Linked DNA regions of Homo sapiens: region 2 is linked to region 1. The links are contacts of gene promoters, found by promoter capture Hi-C in human tissues and cell types (Jung and others, 2019). All regions are on one chromosome and are shown on one strand. Each heading gives the region's core, a stretch centred on a gene start or on the middle of the fragment in contact. The rest is flanking DNA. Distances are from core to core; before and after follow the strand shown.

Region 1 (2,584 bases), core at 58-2,557:
TCCAAGATTTCTACCACCTCCCACTCCCCTCGGGTTTGTAAAGCTGCCTCCATTTGCATTGGGAGTGCGGGGGGGCTGCCTGGGGGACTGTGGCGATTGTCCTCAGGCTATTGGCTGAGAGTGGTATGCCACTGACTTATTCCTCCAAGAGACATTTCCAGTACCCTCCATCCCTGCCCCCTGTACTACACACTGGTGACCTTCCCCCTCAAAAACAAAACTCAAACTCTGTCCCTGATGCTCATGGTCTACTGAAAACAGAATTACAGCTGTCTGTGAATGACCTCTGACCAAGCTGGGGGGACACAGAGAAGGGACTTGTGACTTGCTTTGCCAGGGAGGTCCTGAGAGGCTGTCCAGGGAAGGTGACATTGAGGCCGGGACTTGAGCTGGCTGTTTGAAGGCAGGAAAAATGGCAGGGCAAGGACTGGAGTCCTTCGCCTTCCTGGGGGACGTTTATTCCACATGCCTCGGGAAATCTGAAATGGCCTTGGAGAGCATTTGCTGGGGGTTGGGGGTGGGCGGAAGGGGACAGAGAGCATTGCCACCGACAGGCGGGGCGTCCCAGGGCCTCTCCCCAGGAGCGGATGAGCTCAGACGCGGCTCACTCAGCTGTGTCCAGGCACAGCCGGTTTATGACCTAAGAGAATGACAACCCAGGAGCAAGTCGGGATGACAAAGACGCCCAGAAGGGCACGCGCTTTTATGTAACCGACCTCTGAGCTGGCGGATCTCAGGAGGTTGGCGCTCTGAGCTCAGGCGCGGAGAAAGGACGGCGCCCCTGCCTTACTCTCTTATAAGTACGAGGGGACAGCAACGCGACATAACTTAGAGAAGTCCAGGAAGCTTTAGAGAGCAGGGCGGTCCCGCTGCTATTCCTCAGAGCGCGACTGGGGCGAACTGGGGCGCCCTTCCCAGCTCCAGCTCGGCCCTTGTCCCCTCTTCCCAGGATCACTCGCTGGGTGACCTTGGGCGAGCCACTTGACTTCTCTGAGCCCCAGTTTCCCAGTCCGTGCATCTGAAAGGCTGTAATAGCGTCGTGGGGCTCCCCACTCGGCCCTCAGGGCCAAAGGTGGGCGCCGGACACGCGGGAGGGGCCCTTGGACGCACCCCCTCTCGCAAACGCCCGGTTAGTCCCGGCGGACTCGCAGTGGAGAGCGGCCCCAGGAGGCGGCGGGCGGCGGGGCGGTGGGCGCCAGTGCGCAGGCGCGGCGCGGCAGGGCGGGGCGGCGGGCGCGGGGCGGGGCGGGGCGGAGCCGGGCGGGGCGGGGCCGGCGGCAGGCGCTGGGCGCTCGGCGCGGTGGCTCAGAGTGCGCGGGGCGGCGCGCGGCGTGCAGGTCGCAGCTGTGGCTCGGGTGCTGGCAGGTGCTGGCGGGACTGGCGGGGATCGCCGTGGACTGCCTCAGGGGCGCCGCAGCCCGCTCGGCCCGAGGGCCCGCCTAACCGCGCCGCCCGCGCCCGCTCCTCCTCGGCCCGCGCCCGGAGCGCGGGGGCCGCCGGCGCTGGGTACTCGGCGGCCACCGGGGATCGGGGCTGAGCGGTCGGTTCCCGCCCCCGTGCCGCCGCCGCCGCCTTCCGGCCGACCGCCCGGCTTGGCCGCTGCTGCCGCGTCTGGCCCCCGGGTCCCCGCCGCTGGGGGCGCGGGCGGGGTCGGGGGTTGCCGGGCGCCGCCCCCCGTGCGCCTGGAGTCCACATCCCGGGCCCGGCGGCCGGCGAGCATGGAGGAGAAGTACCTGCCCGAGCTGATGGCGGAGAAGGACTCCCTGGACCCCTCCTTCACGCACGCCCTGCGCCTGGTGAACCAAGGTGAGGCGCCGGCCGTTAACTGCCGGCCGGCGGCGGTTGGGGGCCGGGTGGAAACGCGGGGGCCCAGGGGGCCCCTCCGTGCCCTCTGCTGTCAGCGGACGCGGCGGAGACGGAGGCCCGGGTGGCCCCCGGGGTCGTTTGCACGGGGACCTGGGAGGCTGTGGGACACCTAGGGGAAGACCCTGATGTGAATTTTGGGGACTTGGAAGGAGAAGGCTGGGGCGCATGGGTGAGACTTGAAGGAAATCTTTGGGGACTCGGGCACACCCAGGGGAAACTTCTGGGTGGGGGACAGCGACCATCTGGGGGCTTCGTTGGGAACGAGGTTGAATTATGTCATGGAAGGGGAGCGTGTTGGACTCGGGGAAGTAGGGCGTTTGGTTTGTCTAAGGTACTGGAGAAAAAGCTGGAGGAAAATGGAAGGACTTGAGGGACTCAAATGCAGAAGAGGTGAAGGGAACAGGTGCTTGCATTGTTAGCGAAGTTTGGGGACCTTGGAAGAGGGTTGGGGTCAGACCCCAGCACCTGAGAGGAGAGGAGCTCCGTGGTCCCAGGGGAGGAGCCCAGTTCCCCCTCCCAGCCCTTTGTCTCTCCTGTGTCCAGGCTCCAACAGCCCTGGCGGGGCAGTCAGCCCTCCCAGGGGATGGGCAGCCCATGCCAAGCCTTGCAGGCTGGCCCTTGGAGAAGTCAGTAGGGGAGAAGAGGCCGGCAAAAGAGCACCGTTCCGGAGGGCGTTGGGTTGGGTGACCCTCATTGGTGGCTGGCTTGAGGTTCGGAA
Region 2 (2,584 bases), core at 53-2,552, 1.3 Mb after region 1:
CATATTTATGATTAATGCCCACCTCCATACTCAATATCCATTATAGCAGTTTATTCTAGCCATCTTTCCTTCCTGCTGTATGGCATAGTTTTATTTCAGCATATTGAGTCTTTTTGTAAACTGCTGCCAAATTTATTTATCTGAATTATTCCCTCTCAGATACCAACATTTCAGGATCTTATTTCTGTTTGGATTATTTAGGTCAATTTCAATTTTCATGCATTTTATTTTTCTTTAAAATCAATTATTTTCATAATCTTTTAACAACTTCACAAAAGTCATATTAACCTGAATTTTTCAGTTTATCTTTGTCGTTTTTGTATTTCAAACTTTCTTTGGTGATGGGATTGTTTCAGCTTCTGTGAATACTCTCAAATTATGAAAATGTCATTTCTACTTATAGCTAATATTTAGGTGATTTTTACCTTTGACTCAGTCCCACACCGATTAACCCAGAATTCTTAGGTATTAACAATTGAATTATTAACTTTCTATGTTTTCTTTTCAGAATCCTTCCCACACATACCGTACTTATGGTGAAGGGATTTCAGATATAGGATGCTATTCTCAGACGGTAATTTTGGTTACTGATTAAGTGTACATTTCTAAATAGTAGACATTTTTTAAAGTAATAATAAAAGTGCAAACTTACCTATTGGCTTTCAAGAAATCATCTGTTGCTTAAACTTCTGGTATAAAGATGAGCTAAAAACGAATCACCAAACATCAATACAAACAAAACCAATAGAAAGTTACTAAAATCATCCTATTGGATGAGAATTTTGGTGAACTTTATAAATCTTTAATGTTTAATAAATCAATAAATTGATAAAATAAAAATTGGTGATTTGACACATTTATATTTCAGACAATTTGTGTGTGTGTATGTGTGTGTGTGTATGTTTGTGTGTATGTGTGAATTGAATCACAAACTATGCAAAATGGTGGTGCTGCTCATTCACTTGTGACCTCAAGTGAGTTTATCTACCTTGTTTCTTCCTTAATTTTTTTGTATCATTCTTCTTTTTAACCTTTTTATCCACTAGTGATCAAAATGAAGATAGGTTTCCTTCTTTACTAATACTCCCACGTATGTAGAGCTTACTTAAAATGCAACTGGGATGTATTTCATAATAAAAATGAGAAGCAAGATCATCAATCGCCAATTATCATAAAACTCAAAACTGAGAAGAGCTCCAATAAGTCACTTGTTCCAGCTTTCTAGCCTCAAACAGGGAATACATGCACACACATCCACACCACAGGTGACTCACTGCGGCATAAGGAAAATACATAACCTTTCCCAATACATGAGACCACAGAGCAAAGCTCACATTTATTTAAATATTCCCACAAGATAGTTGGAGGGGAATTAGTTTGTCTACCATAACAAACAGACAAGATTCATGGAAAAACAGAAGCTGAAGAGTACATTGTGTTAGGAAATTCTTAAGGATCTTTTCTGGATTTTGCTGTGGCTTTTAAGTGTTCTATAATTTTATTACAACAGATTTTTTTTAAATGTATCCGATTCACTGAGTGAAAAAGAAGTCTGCTAGTTATTGAAGTCACACATTCAAATTTCACTTCCTCTGGGCAGGTTAACAAATAGAATTGTTGAAGACATCATAAAGGTCAGATGAATGGAGGATGCAGGTCTCCCACTCTCCAGTTGTTGCAGAAGAGGTGTGCTTGGGCCATGGTGCTCTGCTGGACGTGCTGTGGGACCCCAACTCCCCACACCACACCAATGCTCCCTTCTTCCAAGCAAATGCCAAAGCTGACTTATCAGTGACGGCACATCCACACTTCTGGGGAGCTGGGTCGTCTGACTGTAGGAGTTGCCTGTGAATGCCTGCTGCCCAGAACCTGACGGTCTTGAGACCAGTGGGATTTTACACAGGGGGGAAGACACCATCCATGTGGGAGGATACTGATCCCCAGCACAGTGCCACTGGCTGAGTGAGTATATGTGTGTGGGGTGATTCAAGCTATCCAGAGTGAGCATAAGGATCATTGCTGGAAAGACCTACTTAAACTGTAGGACATTTGAGTTGTGAAAAGAGTGACACAAATGAAAAAAATTAACTGGAGTTTATTCATTCAATAGTATCTTCATGACAATGTTGAGTAGTTGCATTTCCTATGAAAGACCCCTGCTTTGATTTGGTGTTCTCCAATATTATTAAGGAAGAATATATACTCTCTGTGTGTGTGTGTGCGTGCATGCGTGTGTGTGTGTGTGTGTGTTCATTTCTTGATATACCTAGCAAGTCAGCAAGTCTGTTCCTGGTGTTTCCCACCAAATAATCGTAATTTACATGGTGTAGTTTTATCACTGTAAATGATAACTTATTCCAGGACTAAGTTATAAATTGAAAGTAAGGACAGAGCCTGTGTTTTAATGTCAATGGCTAGCACAGTGTCTGGAACACAGTAAGCTAGCAGTGATTATTTATTAAATAAATTCACATTAGTTTCTTCTCTACTGATATGGACTGGATGTTAGTGTTCCTCCAAAGTGTGTATGGTGATTACATTTGGAGATAGGGCCTCTAAGGAAAGAATTAAGGTTAAATGAGGG

What was found. The method cuts DNA at HindIII sites, captures the fragments that hold promoters and counts their contacts. A contact is called where the count stands out against the background at its distance.
Region 2: a contact is called between a fragment that was not itself captured here and the fragment with the promoter of KHDRBS3 in region 1, in 1 of the 25 tissues and cell types used here (lymphoblastoid cells).

The regions. Positions count from the first base shown.
Region 1 is chr8:135,456,149-135,458,732 of GRCh38, forward strand. KHDRBS3 (KH RNA binding domain containing, signal transduction associated 3) reads left to right here and starts at 1,308. Exons shown (of 9, transcript NM_006558.3): 1 at 1,308-1,806. The coding sequence starts at 1,719. It overlaps LOC101927872 (a long non-coding RNA gene), which reads right to left and starts at 1,827. Exons shown (of 4, transcript XR_002956731.2): 1 at 1,734-1,827. RefSeq lists a silencer at 1,180-1,479. The HindIII fragment of the contact is 4,912 bases long and covers 1-2,584 here.
Region 2 is chr8:136,757,643-136,760,226 of GRCh38, forward strand. All of the region lies in intron 2 of LINC02055 (long intergenic non-protein coding RNA 2055), which reads left to right. Among named protein-coding and RNA genes, the nearest start is that of LINC02055, 230 kb to the left of the region's middle. The HindIII fragment of the contact is 4,067 bases long and covers 1-2,584 here.